Linked DNA regions of Homo sapiens: all the other regions are linked to region 3. Evidence: promoter capture Hi-C in 16 types of primary human blood cells and fetal thymus (Javierre and others, 2016). All regions are on one chromosome and are shown on one strand. Each heading gives the region's core, a stretch centred on a gene start or on the middle of the fragment in contact. The rest is flanking DNA. Distances are from core to core; before and after follow the strand shown.

Region 1 (5,909 bases), core at 816-3,315, 5.0 Mb after region 3:
AGTTTTTACCAGTTGTTCTTTTTATATTCTAGGATCCCATTTGTCATACCACATTACACTTAGTTGTCATAAGACAATAAAATTTCTATTTAGCAAATGTTTATTGGGTACCTCCTTTGTACTGGGAACTGTTTTGATAGTGTAAGGGATCTGTCCAGTAAACAGACCCAAAAAATCCCTGCCTTCATATGAAGCTTGCATTTTGTTTCCTTTAGTATGCTCAAGAAATTTCTAATGAAAAGTGAAACAAATAGGAGATCATATATACCAAGGGTGTGATTATTGGCCTGTAATTTTGCCTCCTTCTTTGAATTTTCTTTTTTTAAAATCTAGGCTGGGCACAGTGGCCTGTGCCTGTAATTTCAGCACTTTGGAAGGCTGAGGTGGGAGGATTGCTTGAGGCCAGGAGTTCAGTACCAGCCTGGGCAACATAGGGAGAACCTGCTTGTATTTAAAATTAAATAAATGAAAAAGGAAAAAAAAAATTTTTAGTTACGCATATAATACATGCATACATTGTTGCCTGAAAATTTTCATCTACTTCCTTCTCATTGCTGAACTCTCAGTCTTTAAATAATGCCAAGCGTTCCCTTGCTACAGAGAGAGCAGAAGGAGGCCAGGGAGAACAGCAGCCTTTGAGTGGAAGTTGGACCAGCCCTCAGCTCCCTTCGAGGACACAGTCTGTTAGGTCACCCACACCTTATAAAAAGCAGCTTAATGAGGAACTCCAGCGGCGCTCTTCAGCATTAGGTAAAACAGTGTTCTTATTTCATTCCCTTCTATATGCTAGATTTTTCCACAGTCATTGTGTTTCCTAGGTTGTTTATAGCAGGACTTAACTTTCCTGCTATTTGGAATAGTAAGATACTATTTGAAATAGTCAGGTACTGTTTAGAGTAAATAAAACTCTTACCTCGGTAGTGAAAGAATTTATTGACACCTGAAAAAATTCTTAAACGTCTCATTAAACTTTAATTTAGGCAAGGCACAGATTTCTTGACTATTTTTTGATTAATTACTTGCTTGGGTTTCAGCAGACAACAGTTTGCAACATCCCCAGGAGAACACAGGTTAGTTTCCACTTTGTGAATGAATTCTGCATCTGTTCTTGGGGTGCTAGTGAAATGTGATATGCATGCCTCTGGCTGCAGAACTCTGTCAACTCCATTATTGGGCTGCCACTTGCTCTTGGCCTTCTGTCCTTGTTGGGGTGCAAACTGTCAGTGTGGCTGAATAAGCTGAGCTCCTCTCATCTGTCTGTTTTCCATTCTGGTCTACTACACAGTCATCTCCTTCATTTTCATGCTCTTCTGATGAGTATGGGCTGGGGATTGGTGTCAGAATTGAGAGATTAGAAAAAGAGAGGTGGTTTATGTTTTATTTCTGTCAGATTTTTCAACTTGGAGTGGTTTGCCTAAGTCAAGGTGACAAAGGAAGTGGGAGGTGGCATGATAGAGGGGAAGGGATGCAGCATTGGGAATTAGATGCCCCAGAACACCAGATCTCGTCTGGTGTGGCTGATCTTCCCCCAGATAGTGGTGGTTGGCAGAAGGATATTTTATTGTGAGTTCAGACTTGGTCAGCCAGAACAAAGAGAAACTGAGCAAAAGTAGAGTTTCTACCCGAGGACTGGCACAGAGCTGGCTGCATCACCTGCACAGGTTTTCTAGGGCAGTGAGCCTCAGCCAGGGTTACATCAGCCATTTGGAGGGAAGAATCAGAAGATGGGGAGTGGGAGAGGGAGAAAGAAAGGAGCTCTCCTTTTATTCCAGATAATCTCTATTTTAACTTTTAACCTCAATAAACTCTCCTTAGCTCTTGAATCTGACTCACAACAACACTCTTTTTGTTGAGGGAGCTGTTTTGACTAAATCCCATGCTGAATTGAGTGTAGGATTTTTTTATTTCTAAAATCAAGTTAGACTAAAATGTAATATTTTAGGAGTTACAAATTGGCAGCCTGCCAAACCTTGCCATTGGTATTATGATCAACTTGAACTTTAATATCTCCAGGTGGAGCCTTTACTGTCTAGTTTCCTTACTGTCCTTCTCAAGTCTGCTTGATTATTTGATTCTATCTTGAAGGCATTTGAGCTTCAGAAGCCTGGTGTTATTTGGCCAGTCAAGTTCTTTTCCCTATTAAAAGGGCTGTAATTCTATAATTTACTAGCTTTCCGACCTTAGGAAAGTTATTTAATTTTCTAATGTTCATTTTGCAAGAGAAGCAGCTAAGGCTATTTGCCTAAGGGCATAGAGCTAGACCAGATTTTCTCTCTGGGTTTCTTTCATCTTCAGCCAACATCTGTGATTCTCTTGGTTCCAAGAAGGGTCTCACTCATCCTTTTTCAGCGGATGATGCTATTACTACTTTCTTATATTCCTAATTGGCTAAATGCCAGGGACTTCACAAGTTTTTGCCTGCTGCACGGAAGCACAGCCATTATGTTTCCAGTAGCTTCATCTGTCTTCTTTTTCAATTTGTAGATCATGGGGAGTTGTTTTTTGTTTTGAGACTCAAGTTTAGTTATTCTAATACAGTAGCAACACATCTGAGGTATGTGCTAAAATTAAGATATAACTTTATAGAAAGATAAAAGTTGCCAAAGTTTTCTAAAATAGGTACAATTTTGGTAGTTACTTCAGTGATTACATTATCTTGGGAAATTCTTTGTAAACTTTAGATCCCAACCTCTCATTTCTTTGTAATTCTTTTTTTTCCCTCCCAGCCAAAACAGCACCTATCTAGCAAATGGTGAGTTTGAGGAAGATTCAGAGTGGGGTATTTTCCAGTTTACTTTGCCATAGGTTATCAGTTTGATGGGTTTAAGCTAATAGGATGTTCATCCTTTTTGTCAAAACGTCTTTGCTTCATGCTTAGGTTTTGTAACTGCCAGAAATAGGCAGAAACTTCAGTTGTAATTTTGGTCTAAATTAAGGAAATAATAAGTGACAACTTTGGTGGGCATACCCTATTTTGGCCATGAGGCTGGAATTTGGGCTTATTAGTGATAGATTTGGCTTCAGTATTGCTATGTCAGGTATAAATGATCCTTTCCTATTTGGAGCTGTGGGGTTGGGGAAGTGACAGGGAAGGATAGGATTGGAGTTTTAGCAATTTTCTGGCAGTTTTAATTTGCTTGGACATAGGTCAGGTTTTACCATGGCAAAATTTGCCATCCTGGATGTTGTGAAGTCTGTCAGAATCTTTGAAGGCTGGGCTATTAAACTTCTTTCTGATCATCTTCTGTATGAGACTTTGGATATATGGTCTACAGATATAGACAGAACTGAACTGTTTGATCCTATTGCTTACCTGTTTGACTTTAGAGACCAAGCTAAGTTAACCCTCCTTGATTGCTTTTTCTTCTGCTAAATTTCTAGCATGCATTTATTATAGGTTGGACCAAAGGGCTTAAGGAGTCATTAATGAATTTTGGACCATTTAAGTGATGTTCCCATTCCAGGCCTGAAAACCATCAATGGTCTCAGACAATGCTTGTCTTAGGCAGCCTTGACTCGCTTGTAAAACAGCATTTTACATGAGAAGAAATACTTTCAGTAGCCTCTTACCCTTATAAAGACTTGTTTTAACTCTCAATTCATATAACCGGGTGGGAGAACATAATTATATGCCAACAATAAGAGGCAGTTTCCATCACATATATACCTTGTTGTATATAGATACTAGGGACTGTTAACAAGGTTGCTTTTTTTTTAATCCAACTCAGACACAAGAAGGAAAGCAGAACCTACCTTTGGAGGTCATGACCCTCGTACAGCTGTTCAGCTTCGAAGCCTCAGCACAGTATTAAAACGCCTCAAGGAAATCATGGAGGGGAAAAGCCAGGTACTGTCTAGAGGCTTTGGAAGATTACTTATTAAGCGCTTATGGGGATCATGCCATACCTAATGAAAATGGCTTAATGCCACTGAAAGAAAGCTTAATTAGCGCTTCCTCCAGCTGTGAGCACCCTATTTTTATACATAAGTTCTTAATTTTATTGTAGTCTAATTTATCAGTTTTTTTCCCGTTATCCTTAGTGCTTTTCGCGTTCTGTTTAAGAAGTGTTTATCTAGTTCAGGGCAGTAGATATTCTCCTATGGTTTCTTCAAGAAGCTTTATTATTTCTGTCAAGTATAGGGGTCAGGCTTCCATTTTTCCTCATGGATGTCCAGTTGGATATAGTACCATTGTTTTTGAAAAGACCATCTTTCACTGATTGCATTATAAATTCCACCGTAAGTCCATATATGTGTGAGGGTGTGTCAGGGCTCTCTTTTTCTGTTCCATACCTTTATTTTTTTCTATCCTTGTACCAGTACCCTGTCTAAAATTATTGTAGCATTAAGAATAAGTCTTGATGGCTGGTAATATTAAGTCCTTCAATTTGTTCTTCTTCAAGATTGTCTTGGTTATTTTGACCTTTCGTATTCCCATATGAATTTTTGAATTAGTTTGTTTTCTGCAAAAGAAACCTTTGAGGATTTCATTTGCCATTGCATATTAATAATCAGTATTTTCAAGAAGCCTTCACACATTTTTATTGTTATAGGATAGTGACCTGAAACAATACTGGATGCCAGATAGCCAATGTAAAGAGTGCTATGACTGTAGTGAGAAATTTACAACCTTTAGGCGCAGACACCATTGCCGACTATGTGGGCAGATTTTCTGCAGTCGTTGCTGTAATCAAGAAATCCCTGGAAAATTTATGGGCTATACAGGTAAATGCATTTTATTGCCAGTTTACAATTTTTAAAGGTCATAACTATAAGACACTTATAATACAGGATAGTGTTAAGCCAATTTTCATTTTGGGTTTTATGTGTAAGACATGGGGACACAAAGGTGAGGGAGACAGCTTTGCTTTTAAGAACTTTCCTATTGAATAATACAGTAGATGGGACTTATCATAAATAACTAGAGTAAAAGTGTATTTATTGTAGATGCTAGCAAAAAACTATAGGAACATTAAAATTTATTAGACAAGATCGTTAGAGTAGATTACTAATTTAAATCACTATGAGAGTTTTCATTTTAAAAGGACAGATCTTCCTTGACGTAATTACATGACACTGTGCTTTGGCAGTGAATTGTGTCTTACTCAGATTCCTCCATAAGGAACATAGTCAAATTTCAGCAGTACAGAAAATTTAAGTTATTTCTTGAAACAGAAAAAACTGAACAATGGTATGTTGATTTATACAGTGATTTGGGAGTAGAAGATAGTCAGAAATTACCTGAAAAACAAAACTCCTAACATCTCTCTCATGTTATTTTTGTTATTGTGAAGATCTTTCTGTCTGCTCATTTTTTTTTCCACCTAAACTACTACAGAGTTCAGAATCCCATTATCTGTCACCCAGAACCCCATTAGCTTTTACAACAGCTTTTTTGTTTGAAAATTACTTGTATTTCTTTTTTTTTTTGGTAATAATTTCAACTTTTATTTTAGATTCATGTTTGTTACAGGGGTATATTTAGTGATGCTGAGATTTTGCATATGACTGATCCTGTCACCCAGGTAGTGAGTATGGTATCCAGTAGTTAGTTTTTCAAACCTTGCTCCTCTTCCTCCCTCCCTGCTCTAGTAGTCCCCTTGTCTATTGTTGCCATCTTTATGTCCTCATGTACTCAGTGTTTAGCTCCCACTTGTAAGTGAGAGCTTGCGGCATTTGGTTTTCTGTTCTGTGTTAATTTACTTAGGATAATGGCCTCCAGCTGCATCCATATTGCTGCAAAGGACATAATTTTGTTCTTTTTTTATGGCTGCATAGTATTCCATGGTGTATATGTACCACATTTTCTTTATCCATTTCACCATTGGTGGCACCCAGGTTGATTCTGTATTTGCTATTATAAAAAGTGTTACAATGAACATACGAGTACATGTGCCTTTTGATAGAAT
Region 2 (5,745 bases), core at 3,246-5,745, 5.0 Mb after region 3:
ATGCCAGTCTTCAGCCACTTTACCCTTTTAAAAATTCTATCTCTACCTAAAGGTACAAAGAACAGAAGCAAGTTTATGAAAAACACAGCGAAAAAAATGAGAGAATTACATAGACTTTTGCATCTGTCCCCAGGCACTTTACACACAGGGCAAAGGGACACAGGATTTAAGGGAATTTTGCTGGAAAGGAGGGGTTCAACTAAGAAACATCATGAATTCTTTCTGCACTACAATTGTATGAAAAGGGCAAAAGGTGAGGCATGAAAAGGAAACAGGTCCATTGACTAAGTAAAGTGATAGAAAATTGAGTTTGAAATGACAAAATTGTGTTAACTGCATTTAGTTTACTGTTTCTTACATCCTCTCTTATTTCCCTTTTCTCAATACATTGTACTATTCTTAGCCACTGTTTTATTACAAATAAAACCTTCACAGGAAACAGAAGGTTAGAAGAATCTGAAAATCATTCTTTCCCTTATAATTCTTGACTTTTAGATGATAAATCCAGTTTTTCTAGCAGTATGTTAAAATTAGAAGATTCATCTGAATATATTTAGGCTTAAAACAAACTTTATTCACAAAACACAGCTATATCTATATAAAAAAAGCTAACTTCACCTCAAAATAATTCAGATTATATTCTTTTTTTTTTTCCTGTTTCTCCTTCCCTTTTTTTTCCTTTTTTTTTTAAAGTGATGGGGTCTCACTCTGTTGCCCAGGCTGGACTTGAATTCCTGGTCTTGAGGGATCCTCCTGCCTCTGCCTCCTAAGTAGCTGGGACTTCACGTGTGCACCACCATGCCCAGCCAGATTATCCTTTCTGAGTTTGCTACACGGAGGGGTAACTCATTTACCTATGTAGATCCAATTCCACGTAGGGAAAAATGAGTTTCTCTTTAATCAATTCCCAAATGATTCGTGTCATTTCATCTCCTTGCATCTCTACCACAGAACCGCCACTGATTTTTTTGGACATTTTGACTTCAATAAACCTAAAAAGAAAAAAAAAATACATGCCTTGTCATTTATTTCATTATAAAGTGAAATATATAAACAACGTAGTGTTTATATAAACAACGTAGTGACTACTAAAAGAACAATTCATGCAATTCAATTTATGTGTAGTTGAATAAAAAGCTAGTAACAGCAATTCTATTTACCATTAGAATTGAGTATCTTCTCTGAACAAAGTATTGTGTTATGTTTCACACGCGGTTTCTGAGCTAGCCCTCATAACAATCCAAAAAAATGGCCATCATTTCCCCATTTTACTTTGTTAAAAAAAAAAGAGCTTTCCCAAGGCCACCTAGCTAGAGCGTGGCAGAGCCTGACCCTATAACGTGCCCTTCATAATGCAATCATTATTCTCAACTACTGGTTTGTCTTAAGAAATGAGATTATTTCCACAATCTCATGTTTATTGAACACTTCAGTCCAACTCATCATTTTACTGGGCTCTCAAGATGTCCAGAATGGTGAGTGCTAGCATTTCTCCTCCTTTAAGAGGCTGTTTTTGTTATTTAATAAAAATAACTAGCCATGAGGAGATTCAGCTGGTTCCTGTGACCCATATTCAGGGAAACTTTAAGTCTAAAAGCGAGACGAAGAATTCCTGGTGGAACTGTTTTCCTAGAGATAACACAGACATTGGAGATGTGGGGCTAAATACAACAAAGTGATTTCTCAATTAGAAGAATCTCTATACAGTAGGGCCACTGCCCAGGACCCAAGCATGTCCCTGTCATCTTCTTCTGGCTGTTCACAGGCAAGGGTAAGCTGCTAGTGAGTGGGATAGGACAAACTGTGCATTGTCCTAGGAAGACAGCACTTTAAGGATAGGGTGTGGGGGTAGCATATACAAATCAATCTGATTCTCAGAAAGTGCAAGGTTGGACGCTTTGGAAGAAATGAAACTGTCCCAGCTTGTCCCTAGAGGCAGAAGAAGCTCTGAGCCTGCTAAAAGTTATCTATTCCTTCTAATGATGCTCTAATCGAAACTCTTTTTTAATCCAACAACACAGCTGCAAATTGCTTTTATTCTCTTAAGGACTAAAAAAGTCAAGAGAATTGACTTTAAAGAATTATTAGATAAGAAGCCTAAAATAGTCTTTCTTGAAAAATTGAGCTAAAGTAATTTGGTCTTTAAATAAAAATGTAATGATTAGTAGACAGTAAGCGTCTGTTTCTTGACAAGCCTGGATGTATTTCCAATCCCCAGGCCCATTTTCACTTCCCAAATTCGCAATTCTAGAATTCTTCTTACTAGTGTTTAGGAGATTCCTTTGGGGGAACCTTCTGGAACTGAACTAGACTAAAAGAAATGAACAGAATGGTGTGGATGAGTCAATTACTTCCCATTTGTAATGTCAAGTATAATTTGTAGTACAGCTGAAAGCATATGATTCAGTTCATGTTTGATTCCACTGTCACACCTATCCTTGTTTTAAAACAAAGCAAAAAAGGAGGCAGTGAACTTATCTGGTTCCTGATAATACACTTCCATGGCCATGTCCCTATATAGTATGATGCAACAGTCATGACATGGCAATTTATTCTTGATGGCAAATACAGTTAATAGAGGTCAAATATTGTACCTAAAATGTGAAGACTGATATCTTTTTAGTTCACTATTTCCTTCTCAGTTAAAGCAACTGTACTCTCTGCAGTAATCTTTCTTTATCTCATAATGCATACTTCAGACGCTTCAGGTTTTCCTCACATTACTTAGCCATGAAATTTTTACCATCTTTTAACTAAAACAGTGAAGCTTTATTGTTACTACCATGTGGAACATAATTGTATTTCTTCTGGATCTGATTTCCATGGGATGGGCTTGAGGCCCCACTGGACTGACTTCTCCACCTTTGTTGCCCCTCAGATTTTGTCTCCAACCCAATCCCAACTTCAGAAGGAAGGGCTGTTCCAAGACCAGCAGGCACCAGCTCATATGAAGTAGCTGAATCCTATCTCCTAACATAATTGTGCAATTCCAGAAAATAAACCTGGAATAACAATACAGAGTAGTTTAATGAAAAAAAAGAGCCATTTAATATTATTTTCATCAACCTCAAGTTTTTGGCCAGATTGTTTTTTGCCGAGTTCATGAACTACAATAATTTCTGGGCAAAAAGGATCTCTTGCAGATAAGACACTGTATTAAAAGAAACAAGGAAGCTGTTGGAATTCGTTGTTGGAAATATTCCTCACTCATTCCCTTGCAGTGCCTCGGCCTGCCCCCAAGACCAGTTAAACACTGTACTGCCACATCAAAGAAAGTACAGAAGAAGGGGGAAAATTTGCTAATTCTCACCTTGACAGTGAATAGATTTCTTATCACCCCAGTTCCTCCCAGTCTTGCAGACTCAACTGAATGTAGTTTATCGCCTAAAACAAAACAAGGAATAAAAGTGTTAACATACAGAACACTCACAGGAGAATTTAGCTGTTTTTAGTACCTGCCAGACAGCCCAGTTTATCCGGTTTAAAGTACAGTGCTGAGTGTACTCGGTGGGACAAAGGCCAATTTTAGGCCCGCAGGCACTTTCCAAATAAAGGTCATGGGAGCACAATTTATCTCTGCGTGTGCGAGGGCGTGCCCCCGCTTCGCCGCCCGTTAGCAGGTCTTGGGGTTTGCATGTCCTTGCTCTTGGCCTGCACCCGTCCTTATGGCCGTTGTGCAAGAGGGCTGCAATCAAGGCTGGATCGGTACCTCCTTCCAGGTCTCCACGCCCGCCCCTCCCCTCCCCTCCCCTCGCTGGTGCTGGGACCTTTTAAACTCCAGGCACCCGGAACTGGCGGGGGTGTTTCCCCCAGCCCCCTCTCGCCCCGTGTGGCCTAGCGACCCCTCTGAAGGCCGCTGGAGCTCCGCCCCTCCACGCCCCCTGGCGGACGCGAGGGATCGGCTTCAAGGCTATTCCTCGCCGCCTGAGTTGCCTGCAGACGCCCGTCTGCGGCTTACAGCCTTCTTTGCATCCAGCCCCCAGCTGCTGCACGTTTTCTTCCTCCTACACTCCAGGCTTAGTCTTCTACATGCATTCTTGCAACTTCCACCCCTCGATTTTCCAACCCAAGTGCAGACCTGATTTTCCCCTTGTCGTTGCATCCAACTTCCTCACCGCCCAGTTTCTCCCTCCCAGGCCCAAAAGCAGACCTTCTGCATATCCAAGCATCCAGCATCCCCTCCTTCCCTTTTCTTTTCCCATTCTCAATACCTGGATTTGTTCCCTTCTTTGCACGCAGGCCTTGACTCCCTCCACACCCAAGATCTGCGCTTTTTTCCTTTACCCCATTCCTGCCTTCTGCGGAATTAGAGCCACCCCTCCACAGCCAGGGACCGGGGCCGCCCCTTGGAGCCTGAGGTTACCTGCCGGGATGATATGCTGGCGAAGAGTTGGGGCGCCACAGCCGCTCACAAGCTCAGACTCACAACCACAGCCTGGCAATCCCAAACCGGACTCCCAGTGCCTCCGCTTCTGAAGTAGACTCTGCAGAAACCCGGGACCACAGGGTAGGTCCGAGCTTTTCCTCTTCCCGGCTTTGTCCCCTCCCAGGCCCCGCCTCCTCAGCCCACCTCCCCCAGCCCCGCCCCCGACACGCCTCCAATCGCCACACGCCAATTCCCGTGGGATGGGCGGAGTCAGCGAGAGGGGCGTGGCCACAGTCAAAGATGGAGAATCCATGGTGCCACTTTCCCGGTGATCCCGGTGGGGGAAGGGGTTGCCGCCCGGCAGAGATTCAGTCCCGAATCCCGACAGCGAAGAGACTTGTATGCCACCTGCAGGCCGGGGAGCGGGGCGCGCTGGGGCTGCACCACCCCGAACTTTGTAACAATCTAGAGCACCACAGAGTGTTTCCAGGTCGGCACAAAAGCGAACGGGACAGGGCGCCCTGGGCGGCGGCAGCTTGGCCGGCCCGCTGCCTAGCGCGCCCCCGAGGGGCGGTAATGGAACGTACCTTTGGCTGAAGAAAGAGTGCTCCCGGCCAGCGCGGGGTCGCCTAGGGGGTTCCGCGCTGCCTAATGCAAAGGATGGAAAAGTTACAGAAGCAGGTCCTGACACCACCTATGTCTAGGTCTTTAGAAACTCCATTGATTGTTTGCATTAGAAGATAATGAATGGGATTCTTATTATTTTCTTTTTTAAGACAGGGCCTTGCTCTGTTGCCCTGGCTGGAGTGCAGTGGAGCGATCACCGCTCACTGCAGCCTTGACTTCCTGGGCTCAAGAGATCCTCCCACCTCAGCCTTCCGAGTAGCTGGGATTACAGGTGCACACAATCACACTCAACTAATTTTTCTTTCTTTCTTTTCTTTTCTTTTTCCTTTGGTAGAGATGGGTTTCAGCAGCCCAGGCTGGTCTCGAACTCCTGGACTCAAGTGATTGGCCCTCCTCGGCCTCCCAAAGTCCTGGGATTACAAGCGTGAGCCACCATGCTCAGTTGGCGGGGGATTATCTGTGATCCAATGAAGTTGGACTAGAGATGTGAAGCCTTAGAAAACGGTGGATTGAAAAAAGAATTTTAGTCTCCTCCAGAGATTATATTTTGTGTGTTCATTGCTCTCAAAAACATGAAAATAAAGAGTATTTTATATTGTGATTTGTAGGACAATAGCATGCTTGTATATTGCTGCCCAGAATTTAATGCTCCAATATTTATTTATTTATTTATTTATTTATGAGACAGAGTCTTGCCCTGACAGGCTGGTGCAGTCTCGGCTCACTGCAACTTCCGCCTCCTGGGTTCAAGT
Region 3 (6,027 bases), core at 3,111-5,610:
AGAGAGGGTTGGAGGATCATAGGAGGAAGTTCTACCTCAAAAGCTATATATATAGTGGGATGTAGCTCCTGCCAGCAAATATGGCTCAGAGCTGACAGGGAGCAAAACAGGAGGCTTCTAAAGCTGCTCTCTTCTCAGCCTTAGCCTATTGATGCCTCTTGGTGGAATTAGAAGCAAGCTCATAAGAAGCCCAGGTGGCGTAGTCTGAAGGAATGAACATCAGTGGTGACAGTTGCATGGTAGACACACCTGACAGTGATAACGTAAGCATACCCTGAGAATGACCCTATATTCTAAGAAGATTGTGTGTTCACAATTCCAATCTAAGGAATCTAGTAGTAGCCAACCAGAGATTCATTTGGAGGTTGTTGTCAGCTGGGACTCCAAACTGCACTCCAAAGCTGGGACTCACCACTGCACTCCAAACCTGGGTCACAAAGTGAGACTCCGTCTCAAAAAAGAAAATTAAGGCCAGATGCGGTGGTTCACGCCTGTAATCCCAGCACTTTGGGAGGCCAAGGCAGGTGGATCACGAGGTCAGGAGTTCGAGACCAGCCTGGCCAATATGGTGAAACCCCGTCTCTACTAAAAATACAAAAATTAGCCGGACGTGGTGTCGCGTGCCTGTGGTCTGAGCTACTCAGGAGGCTGAGGCAGGAACATCACTTGAACCTGGGAGGCGGAGGTTGCAGTAGGCCGAGATTGTGCCACTGCACTCCACCCTGGACGACAGATGGAGACTCCATCTCAAAAAAAAAAAAAAAAGAAAAAAAAAGAAAAAAAAAATAAATACATTTGTAGGAGTTTTTAAAGCCACAGAGTTTAAAACTTTTGTGGTTTTTAGACTTTTTTTAGAGACTAGGTCTCACTATGTCACCCAGGACAGAGGGCAGTAGCACAACCATAGCTCACTATAACCTTGAACTCCTGGGCTCAAGTGAACTTCTGAGTCTCCCAGAGTCCTGGGATTATAGGTGTGAGCCATTGTGTGCGGCCCAAAAACTATTTTTTTTTTTTAGAGACGGAGTCTCGCTCTGTCGCCCAGCCTGGAGTGCAGTGGCACGATCTCAGCTCACTGCAAGCTCCACCTCCCGGGTTCATGCCATTCTCCTGCTTCAGCCTCCTGAGTTGCTGGGACTACAGGCGCCACCACCACGCCCAGCTAATTCTTTTTTGTATTTTTAGTAGAGACAGGGTTTCACCATGTTAGCCAGGATGGTCTCGATCTCCTGACCTCGTGATCTGCCCGCCTCGGCCTCCCAAAGTGCTGAGATTACAGGCATGAGCCACCACGCCTGGCCCCAAAAACTATTTTTTAATTCAACATGAGTACATGTTGAAGAGAAGAAGTATGACAGGTGATGAAGAAAATTACTTTCAAGGATAAAAATAATTTCATTAGAATAAAATTCTGTCGGATAAGTGCAATAAAAATAAGTTCAGAAAAAGGAACCATGGAAAATTTCCAGTTGTTCACAAAAAGTGTATGGGTTTTTTGTTTTGTTTTGTTTTGTTTTGGGTTTTGTTTTTGTCCAGGCTGGAGTGCAGTGGCGCCATTTTGGCTCACTGCAACTTCTGCCTCCCGGGTTCAAGTGATTCTCCTGCCTCAGCCTCCTGAGAAGCTGGGATTACAGGCGCATGCCACCACACCCAGCTAATTTTTGTAATTTTAGTAGAGGCGGGGTTTCCCCATGTTGACCAGGCTGATCTTGAAGTCCTGACCTCAAGTGATCTGACCGCCTCCGCCTCCCAAAGTGCTGGGAATACAGGTGGAGCCACCGTACCTGGCCAAGTTTGTGTGTTTTTAAAAAAAGTCTTATAGTTATCACATCACTATTATATTTACATTCCTTTTCATACACTTAAAAGAGAGCTGTAACAATTTCAAAACGTGAATATTTATAATATGACAGAAATTTAATCCTTTAAAGTCAAGATAAAAATTTTAGATGTCAATACAAAAAATGTGTGAAAAGATATATATGTGTGTATGTGTATATATATATTATATATATATTATTTATATATGCTTTTAGGGAGTATCTGGGCAAAACGTTTTAGGAACACAGGAAGAGGAGGTAGATGTCTAGTTTAGAGACTCACACTATAAAATATGGTGCCCTGACAATTTCTGGAATTTTTGTCTCTTTTTTACAGCCCTCAAAGTTCAGAGAGTCTCAGGATGTAGGTCAATTTAGGACTAAAAGAGAATTCTAGATATCTTGAAGGATTGGTACCTAAGATTACGGTACCTAAGATTACGGTTATATGGCTACCTTATGCAGTTAAAACTCTTATGTTTGGCCGGGCGGGGTGGTTCACGCTTGTAATCTCAGCACTTTGGGAGGCCCAGAGGGGCGAATCACGAGGTCAGGAGTTAAAGACCAGCCTGGCCAACATGGTGAAACCCATCTCTACTAAAAATACAAAAATTAGCTGGGCATGGTGGCGCGTGCCTGTAATCCCAGCTACTCGGGAGGGTGAGGCAGGAGAATTGCTTGAACCTGGGAGGCGGAGGTTGCAGTGAGCCGAGATCCCGTCACTGCACTCTAGCCTGGGCTACAGAGGGAGACTACGTCTCAAAAACAAACAAACAAAACAAACAAACAAAAAACTCTTACATTTACTGTTTTGAAAACCTATTGGGAACATCAGTTTGACAAGAAATATCTTTAAAATTCTGAACAAGAGACTTAAAAATGAACTTTGAACATACGACAGTTTAAAGCACATTTATATGCAGAGAAAGACTTAAAAATACAATTTCTGCCAAGTGAAATATTAAACAGCATGTTTCATTATATTTGCTATAGATGCCAAAAGAGTTGCCATTTTCAATGAGGTATGTTTCCTGCTTATGTAACAGTCATTTATCATAGAAGCTGTAAAATGCAATCTGGAATTTCTCTTGCCAAATTGCTGCCTGTTCTTGACATTTTATATTATTAAAGCTATAAAATCTATAAATACTTTTAGCACACTTTCACTAAAAGCAGCACTAGTAAGTAGCAGGCCTTGTCTTGTATTTCAGTAGCCACGTCAAAACTTCTGAGCCAGGCGAAATAGAAAGAGGGGTCCTAGGGTATTTTATGCCCAGGGCAACAAACGCCAAATGCTGACGTAGATAGCACTTATTCGGTTTTGCCAGGAGCTGTGCTAAGTGATTTTCATAAAATATGTAATTTAACCTACAGGCAACTCCATGTGGTATTATTTTCACTTTTTTACATAGAAGGAAATGGAAGCTTAGAAAACTGAAGCAATTTACCGAAAGTCAGAGTTAACAGAGCAAGGAAACCTGAACAGTGTGCAGCCTCCGCTCACCAGAAAGTGTCAAAGAATCACATTTACTAGTACTTCAGACAGAAATTCTGCGAAACAAGGCGTATCTACTCTTGTTTTACTCCCAGACACTTCCCTGTCCCGCTTAGATCAGTGGTGGTTTTCACTCAAATTTAAGTGTGTAACAGTGTCCCCGGGAGGGCTCTGTTCAAACAGATTGTTGTACGCGCCCCCTACCCCTGCCCACCCCGAGTGTTTGATTCAGTAGGTCTAGTTTGGGATCGAGAATCTTTTTATTTTGTTTTCCTTTTGTTTTGTTTTGTTTTGTTTTTGAGACAGGGTCTCGCCCTGTCGCCCAGGCTGGAGTGCAGTCGTGCCATCTCGGCTCACTGTAGCCTCTGCCTCCCCGGCTAAAGTGATCCTCCAGCCTCAGCCTCCGGAGCAGCTGGGGCCACAGGCAAGCGCCACCACTGTAGGCTAATTTTTTTTTTTTTTTTTTTTTTTTTTTTGTAGAGACTGGGGTCTCACTATGTTGCCCACGCTGGTCTCAAACTCCTGGGCTCAAGCGATCCTCCCGCTTCAGCCTCCCAAGGTGCTGGGATTACAGGTGGAGCCACCGCGCCCGGCATCGATAATCTGAATCTCTAACGAGCTCCCGGGCGACGTTGATGCAGCTGGTACCGGGACCACTCTTCGAAAATCATCGGTTTAGAGGTTTTAATTCTGAATCCATTGCGAAAACTGTTGGGCGGACAGAGCACTACTAACTCCTAACTTTTCTCAGAAAGCTGGGCTCTGCTTTCGCCAGCAACCCGGTCCGAAGTCGCGGGCATATTCTGTCTGAAATCGTGTGCACCGAAATCCCCGCCTTGCGGTGGAGGCTGGCGCTAGGCGGCCTCAGCCTCGGCCTGCTGCGCTCAGGAACCCGCGCCCCGGCTCCTCGGCGATCCATTGCTCTTTCCTCTGGCGCCGGCCGCAGGCCTCGGTCACGCCCCCAGCGGCCCGTTGGTTTCCGGGTCCCGCGGGGTGCCCCCGCCCACACGCTATGCCTTAAATTGGGCCAGGCTGAGGCGCTGCTGCTGGAGCGGCCGATCCGAGACGTGGCTCCCTGGGCGGCAGAACCATGTTGGACTTCGCGATCTTCGCCGTTACCTTCTTGCTGGCGTTGGTGGGAGCCGTGCTCTACCTCTATCCGGTGAGCGCCGTCTTGGCTCTCTGGGGCCCCGGGCGCCGCCCCAGTCTCTCTGTCGCCGGCATCCAGGCCAACCTGCCCGCTGCGGGCCGCAGGGGGCGGGCCTGAGAGGAGGGTTCGGGTTCGCTCCAGAGCTTCAGCGCGGGGACCGCACCCGGAGTCACGTGACGCCCCTCCCGGCAAGCTCTGAGAGCGACGTGGGCTGCGTCGCTACCCCTCAGGCGCCGGGCCAGGCGGGCGTAGAGCTGCTGAGGAAAAGCCCGCGCCCCCGCAGGCCGGTCTCACCTTGCCAGGCACCCCGCGCCACTCTCCAAGGCGGCTCTCAAGTACTTTGGGCAGCTTTTTGGCCATAACTCGCCAAACCCAAATTTCATTTCCCAGTGTGTCAGGACGAGACTCCTGGGCGCGCCACTCCTTTCTCCTTTCTTGAGGATTCTCCCAGCACTTGTGTATTCCTCTTTTCCATCTGTCCATCGATCTATCCTGACTGGAATCCAAAGTGCTCGAGGTCCAGGTCTTGCTCCTCTTAGGGGCTCCAGGCAAATGCTTCTTTGGGGAGAGCGCCGCGCTGCGGGTTCGGGTGCGAGGTTTCCTCTGCCGCTGACGCCTCTGCGAGCCTCCGGTCCTCCTCTCTCCACTTGCCTCCGTCAGCGAGAGAGGGAGGGTCTGAAAACAAAAGTGTTGATGACTGAGGACCGTCTTTAAAACCTGTTCTACACACTTTGGGAGGCTGAGGCGGGCGGATCACGAGGTCAGGATATCGAGACCATCCTGGCCAACATGGTGACACACCGTCTCTACTAAAAATACAAACATTAGCTGGCTGTGGTGGCGGGCGCCTGTAATCCCAGCTACTCAGGAGGCTGAGGCAGGAGAATCGCTTGAACCTGGGAGGCGGAGCTTGCAGTGAGCCAAGATCGCACCACTGCACTGCAGCCTGGCGACAGAGCCAGACTCTTATCTCAAAACAAACAAACAAACAAACAAAAAACACCTGTTCTACAAAGCAAGGTGGTGGTTTTACAGTGAAAGTTGAAAAGTAGCTGAACTGCTGGAATTGACCATACACCTTCTTAAATGTTCTTTTCCGAGCAGGTAAATGGATTAGACTAGAATCTTGCAACTACACAATCAGGGACTTCCTGAAATCTTATTTTCTGAGAAACTAAACAATTTTAGTGGTTCTTGAATTTTTGGTGATTTTAAAATGATACTCTTCTTTGATCAGCTCATAGAAGCACACTGTTTATTCTTAGCACTAGCTATGTGCCAGATATGGTTCCACGTGCTGGGAATCCAGCCGTGAAACAAACCGGACAGAAAATTCCTGACTCTTGGAATTTATTTCCTAGAGAAGGGGAACAGACAATAGAAACAAATAACATAGGATTGTGGGTAGAAATAAAGTTGGGGATAGGTAGATTGTTATTTTAAAGTAGGATGGCCAGGAGATACGGAGACATTTGAGTAGAAACGCGAAGAAGGTGAAGGTGCAAGCCATTCTGAGAAAGAGCATTCTGGGTCGAGGGAGCAGCAAATGCAAACCTTCAGAG
Region 4 (6,043 bases), core at 3,259-5,758, 6.9 Mb after region 3:
CAAATTCTTTTAGCAAAATATGAGAAGTTTTTAAACATTATCTCTAGACTATAAGGAGACTAGAGGAGTACAGTCGTGCCACTGCATTTCAGCCTGGGTGACAGAGAGACACTGTCTCTACAAAAATTTAAAAATAAATAAATAAAAAATATATGAGGATTCAAAGTTACTGAATTGTAGCAGGGAAAAGTCCAATTAAACAAACAAAAAAAGAATGAGCTCACACTGGTACAGTTTTATTCCTCAAAAATACAGGAATTAATGGAAAGTAGGAATACAAAATACAGTGTTGTTTTCAAGATTTCTTCATGCCACTTTACAGGAATTCTCAATTTACTGCAGTAAACACTGCAATAACTGGCATAACTAGGATTCAGTCAGCTCAGTACTTTATATTCAATGATGTTTTATAAGCAAGAACTTCTTCCACTTTGAAAACTATGCCTAAAAAGGAATTCTCTTTGAAGACTAAAGGAATTTAATTAAAGATAAAGCCACTTGGGTGGCTACATAACACATCAAACAGATCATACTTCAAGCAGAATTATTACTTTTCACTTGTAAGTGCATGACTCATAGTCATTTTTTTCTGTGTATATCGATTTGGATCCAAAAATCTACATGTAGAAGTACACTATCACATTTGCTCAGTCTATATACTTTAGCTTCAATTTAACTTCACATGAATAAACACTGATTAATGACCTACTGCTGAATAAAAATTTGTTTAAATAAAAACAACACACTTGAGAATTGTCTTGGACTGGAAACAAAGCCTCAATATTATATAAAATAAACAAAAAGTTCATAAATATTTTTAGAATATTAACAAAGTCTCAATATTATTAATGAATTTTCACGTCCATACAGAAATGTTTCTAAGAACCTAAAAATAACATCAAGTATTTAAAATTTCCATTATGAATAGTCTTTGGATTTTTATTATAGACTATCTACTGGCAAGTTTAATAGTACCGTTTTTATTAACATTTGCTGGGTGTTTATCCCACATGATTAGGGAATAAGGAGTACAATTCAGTGAAAAGTCCCCATAAAACAACATTTAAAAGAAAAAGAAAGGTAGAAATCTCTTGGAAATTATATATCTTCCTTGCCTTTCTAAATGGAACATACTAAAAGTAATGTAAGATTGTATTTATGATTCAGGGTCATCATGATGTAAATTATTCCATTAAAGTACTATAATGCAGTATCAGCTTTAAGGATAGCGATATGAGAGATATGCTTTAAAATTAGTAAATTAGTTGCTAATTGTCCAATAAATGTCACTCCTGCTGCAAGCAGCCCCATTCCTTTCTGTTTGTATCTTGATGAACCCAATCAGTAAACAACCCTAAGCATAATTCTATACCTGAAGAAAGCAGCTCTCTGCCTCCTTCAACTACCATCTAATACTATATAGACAAAATAAGGGTATGGAGAGATTATCTGAATACATGAAAAACATCATGAAAACAAGGATTACATATTATTTATAAGATTTATGTGGTAGATTAAAGGGCATAAAGGATCCTATAGGCAATAAGAAGTGAGCTACCAAGAACCATCTCAATAATAAAGGAACTTCAGATAGCAGGCATCATTTTTTGTCAAACACAGTAAAAGCTACAAGTGAAACTACATTGATCAGTGAAACCTTTACGTTAATTTCATAGAAGACAGATGAATGAGTAAAGGAAATGAAATAATCTAAGGTATCATGATAAATGGCATCAAAATTGGATGAAGTTCTTGGATAATGCAGCAGTTGGGCTATGAGAAGTTAATTGACCTTCTGGTAGACAACTGTGATCAGATCACTGAGGCCTCACCTGAATGAAAAAGTAGTAAAAGTTATGAATCCAACAATAATAGTATATTACTAACAATGTACTAGTAAACTGAGTAAAACAAAAAGCAAAAGACAATTTCCTGATCTTCCATAGATAAAAAAGATAAATATTAGCCCACTGGCAAGTATTTATTGAGCACCCACTAAGTGATCTGCAGCATGTCAAACATGAAATATATTTCTTTCTCTCAAGCACTTTACAATAAGTTAAAAAATAAAAGATACATCACAGATTAGAGTGAAAAAATTTAAAATGCAAATTAAAGCAAGGTTTTTAGTTTTAAAGCCTAATACTAGGTGATAAACAAAGACATAATGGGAGGCACACACATACCACTAGATCACTGTAAATCAATACAACATTCTGTAATTTGGTGATGACATAAGAGCCTTAAAAAACACACACACAAACAAACAACAAAAACAGACTCTTTGGCCCAGTAATTCCTCTTCTACAAATCTAAGGGGGGGAAATTTCAAAGGTTTATGTAAAAGGATATTGTCTGTAGTGAAATATACACTAGCAAAACCAGAAACATCCCACATACGTGCCAACAGAAAAAATTTAAAATATGATAGTTACATGGCGAAATGTTAAGCAGCTATTAAAAATATTTTTCAAAGAATAATGATATGCGAATGTCTGAGTTAAATGAAAATACCATGTGGTCTCAGTTTTAGGAAAAATACACATATATGCAGACAGAAATATTTAAAGTACAAAATATTTATAGTTTTCTTATTTGCACTCATCTATTTTCCAATTACTTTATAATAATAAGATTTAACAAAATAATCGATTGTTATTTGCAAAGGCGCATCATGAAACAAAATTAAAATGTAAATGTTAAAAGTCAATGTGAGAGAATTGGCCTGGATTAAGAAGTTTCACATAAAAAATTACTCCAGACAGTTTGCGGGAGAGAATAATCTATGTAGATTAAAACCATGAGGAAATGGTTGCAGACGCTGACACTGATCTAAGTAGGTGGAAACTGAGGGAGAACCAAAGATAATGGTTACAACAGATTTTAAAGATACTCAAATATATTCTATTTCATGATTAATTCATTGTTTATATTTCCCCAACATGTGGGCTTTTAAAAAATTCACTTTTGTTATAAAAATAACACTACTTGGCAATTGGTAGAGATTAGGAATCACTTTTCCTAATACAAGGCATTTCTTCTTTCTTACAATCTCTTAAGACAGAGACCATATTATGAAACTTTACAAAAACGAAACAAGTTTGACATCAGAGAGGTGACTAACCCAAAGAAATGGCTAGTTATTAAGAACGGGAAAGGCAGAGACCACTCACTGTTAAGCCTCTTTCTCAATACTGAATTATTTTTAGAGTCATTTTTTCCTAGTCAGAAATTGCCAGTTTTGTCTGCAGTGCTCACTTCACTTAGGTTTTGTGGCTAACAAACCTGCCCCATCCAGCAATATTTAAAATTATTACTGACCCAAACTCAGATGAAGTTAAGCAAACTGGCTAAAGACGAAGGAAGTTTGTCTCCTAAACCTCGCCAGAACATGAATGTCCTGAAGTTTGGGGAATCAAAAACGGAATGTGCTTACCACAGTTCAAACAAAAAAACAAACAAAAACGGACTCTCCCAGAGTAAGAAAACATTACAAGAACGTCCATCCAGTGCCTGCCCTCCCGACTGCAAAGCCAGCCTCTTTCCTTTCCTGTGGTTTCTGAAACGGCCAGGATACCGCCTGGTATTTCTTGCTACCAAACACCACGCAATCTGACTTTTTCCAGCAAGACCGGTCCCTTCCTCAGCACACCGGTGACACAAACTTGGAAGCACCGTCCCTCAAAAATCCCCTAGATTCTGCTCTATCCCATCTAACTCTAAAGCCCAAATCTACGTTTTCCTGAAAGAAAGTGTGAAATAAATAAAATAGGGGTCTCATCAAATCCAGTGGGCTCCGCCTCAGAGCCGCCTCAAAAGAGCCGTCACCACACCCCCAATGGGTGAGGCTCAGCCGATGAGGCAAGAGGCGGGTCCAGGAAACCACGTGTTCTGCCTTCTGCGCACGCGCCAGCCAAAACAAAAGGGAGGTCTGCCAAGCCCCACCCCCCACGTGACCGGCGTCCAGGTCCGCCCCCACCCCTCCCTAGACCCCTTCCCTCCCCAGCTGCCAAGGCTGTTAGGTTTAGCCGTTTAAATTTGGCTGCGGTCAGACCCCCGCCCTAGAGCGCGATCCCGTGCCGAGACCAGAGTCCAGCAGCCCAGAGGATTCGGGGGGCGAAGGGGCTGCCGGTCGGTCGCCTGACCCGCAAGTCCACCCGGCAGTCTTCTCCCCTCCCCGCGCTGCCGCCGTCCCCAAGAGGGAAGACCCACCCCCGTCATCCCGCCGCTGAGACGCCGGCCACTCGCCTGCTGGGGCGCCCTGGCTCCCCTCCGCCGCCGCACCTTCGGTCCGGCCGTGGTGGGGGCTGCTGAGGTGATCTCTAGCTGCCCGCCCGCCTCCCCCACCCGGGGCGCCGCTGACTCGTCTCCAGAGCGCGCCCCGCTCCCGCCCCGGCCGCCGCCGCCGCCGCCGCCGCCGCCGCCGCCGCCGCCGCCGCCGCGGTTTAACAGTCCGCCCGCTGCCCGCAGCTCCGTGCGGCTCGGGGGGACGGAACCCTGCCGCGGTCTGGGAGCAGTGGGCGGGGCCCGGCGCTAGCCAATGGCAACGGGGGAGGGGCAGCGCCATGCAAATGAAGCGGGTGGCGGGGAAACCCCGGCAGGGGGCGGGGCCTGCAGAAGCGGCTCGGAGTGTTCTGGAAGTGGCAGGAGCACGACTCCCTTAACTCTGGTGCAGGGTTTACCTCGGCTCCCTCGGGACGGGTTCCGTGCAGCTCCTGCTTCCTCCCTTCTCTTTCCCAGTGCCATCCCTGGCGAGGGGGAAAAAAAAAAACACGGCCAGGAGACTTCCCACCCCTGCTTTGCTATTTTTGTACCTCCGTGACAGAAAAACAAAACCCTGAGGAAAAGTCAGGCGACTTCATTCCCTGCCGTCCGCGCCGGGGCCTCGACTACTGCTGGCGTCCGCGGCTTTCGCCCGCCGCTCCACAGGCGAGTTTTAAGAGATTTCTCACAATTGTCAAGTCCGCAAGTCTCCGTGCGTTTGCTTTTATTTGGGCCGTGCGTTCAAATGCGCTCATAATTCTTTCTGACCCTCAGAGGGGCCCTGAAGTAGGTGACAAATTTGCCTTGGATCCAACTGGGTGGTTTTATGATTAAAAAAAAAAAAACAGACAAAGCAGTTTTAAGTCTCTACAAATCTGGTTTGAGTGGCGCTGGACCTAACTCCCCTCTGCAGTAACGCTGTCAAATAAACAAACGGAGTTTATGTGGAGATAGTTGGCCAGCGACACCCAAAAACACTTCTGAGCGTCTTGCACCTGGCCCCGCGAACCGCTCACCACAAAACAAACCTGCACCTGGGCACTTCCCCAGCCAAGAACTCGATTTTTTTAAAACTGAACTCTAAATGTAGCTTCTTAGATGTTGTATCACAGTCTTTCCTAAGCACCGAATTTACACATGAAATGATTTAAGGAACGAAGAGCACTAGGCTTTTTAAGCCAGAAGGATAATAGCCATTATTTTAACCTTATCAATTGGATAAGATCCCGGGGGCGGAAGAGGGGAGAAATCCAAGGAATTGCAGTCATAACAAAGCGTAATCCGTAACATAGATAACTGGAATTGGAAAATTAGCTACTCGTTCCTGGTTCTTCTAGTAGATTGTGATATTACTGAAATAATTTTTATGACCAGCTGCATTTATTGGAGCTATATTTTTTTAATTACTGAATAATTGCACCTCGATATGGGGCAAGGGAAGAATTTTAGGAAATTGATTTACTTTCATTGTAATAAAAATTGTAAGCTAATGATGTGTTGTGAAAAATAATTAAATCAGTAAGTATTTATTGGATATTTACCATATTCAAAGGACTGTCCTAGTCCCTGGGGACAGAAATGCAAAAATGAATAAAGTATTTTTTAAAGTTTTGTTTTTTTAATTAGCAGTTTGAGACATCTAATAAGCATGTGTTAAGATAGATCAAAGGAAGATTCTGGATTTGAGTTGGACGTTTAAAAGACTTAAGAGAGAGGAGGAAGGCATCAATAGTTCAGGAGATAGTGTCCTTGGGTGGTTTGAGGAGATGTTGTGTGAATA

The links. The method cuts DNA at HindIII sites, captures the fragments that hold promoters and counts their contacts. A CHiCAGO score of 5 or more calls a contact.
Region 1: a fragment that was not itself captured here is called in contact with the fragment with the promoter of CYP20A1 in region 3 in 2 of 17 cell types (monocytes and neutrophils); the score reaches 16.3 in monocytes.
Region 2: a contact is called between the fragment with the promoter of IDH1 here and the fragment with the promoter of CYP20A1 in region 3, in 4 of 17 cell types (monocytes, neutrophils, naive CD8 T cells and 1 more). The highest score is 12.6, in monocytes.
Region 4: a contact is called between the fragment with the promoter of KANSL1L here and the fragment with the promoter of CYP20A1 in region 3, in 1 of 17 cell types (neutrophils). The highest score is 8.3, in neutrophils.

What each region holds. Positions count from the first base shown.
Region 1 is chr2:208,272,984-208,278,892 of GRCh38, forward strand. It overlaps PIKFYVE (phosphoinositide kinase, FYVE-type zinc finger containing), which reads left to right. Exons shown (of 42, transcript NM_015040.4): 3 at 601-750; 4 at 3,729-3,847; 5 at 4,554-4,725. Among named protein-coding and RNA genes, the nearest start is that of PIKFYVE, 9.7 kb to the left of the region's middle. The HindIII fragment of the contact is 3,746 bases long and covers 193-3,938 here.
Region 2 is chr2:208,250,576-208,256,320 of GRCh38, forward strand. It overlaps IDH1 (isocitrate dehydrogenase (NADP(+)) 1), which reads right to left and starts at 4,496. Exons shown (of 10, transcript NM_005896.4): 1 at 4,364-4,496; 2 at 3,311-3,384; 3 at 855-992. The coding sequence starts at 976. It overlaps IDH1-AS1 (IDH1 antisense RNA 1), which reads left to right and starts at 4,658. Exons shown (of 2, transcript NR_046452.1): 1 at 4,658-4,856; 2 at 5,328-5,619. RefSeq lists a silencer at 3,641-3,750 and an enhancer at 4,204-4,730. The HindIII fragment of the contact is 4,060 bases long and covers 2,766-5,745 here.
Region 3 is chr2:203,234,658-203,240,684 of GRCh38, forward strand. CYP20A1 (cytochrome P450 family 20 subfamily A member 1) reads left to right here and starts at 4,361. Exons shown (of 13, transcript NM_177538.3): 1 at 4,361-4,477. The coding sequence starts at 4,406. RefSeq lists enhancers at 4,062-4,111, 4,397-4,968, 4,792-5,081 and a silencer at 4,182-4,391. The HindIII fragment of the contact is 4,599 bases long and covers 3,244-6,027 here.
Region 4 is chr2:210,166,901-210,172,943 of GRCh38, forward strand. KANSL1L (KAT8 regulatory NSL complex subunit 1 like) reads right to left here and starts at 4,509. Exons shown (of 15, transcript NM_152519.4): 1 at 4,249-4,509. RefSeq lists enhancers at 3,534-4,168, 3,596-3,775, 4,169-4,804, 4,805-5,438 and silencers at 3,966-4,275, 4,396-4,725. The HindIII fragment of the contact is 7,802 bases long and covers 1-6,043 here.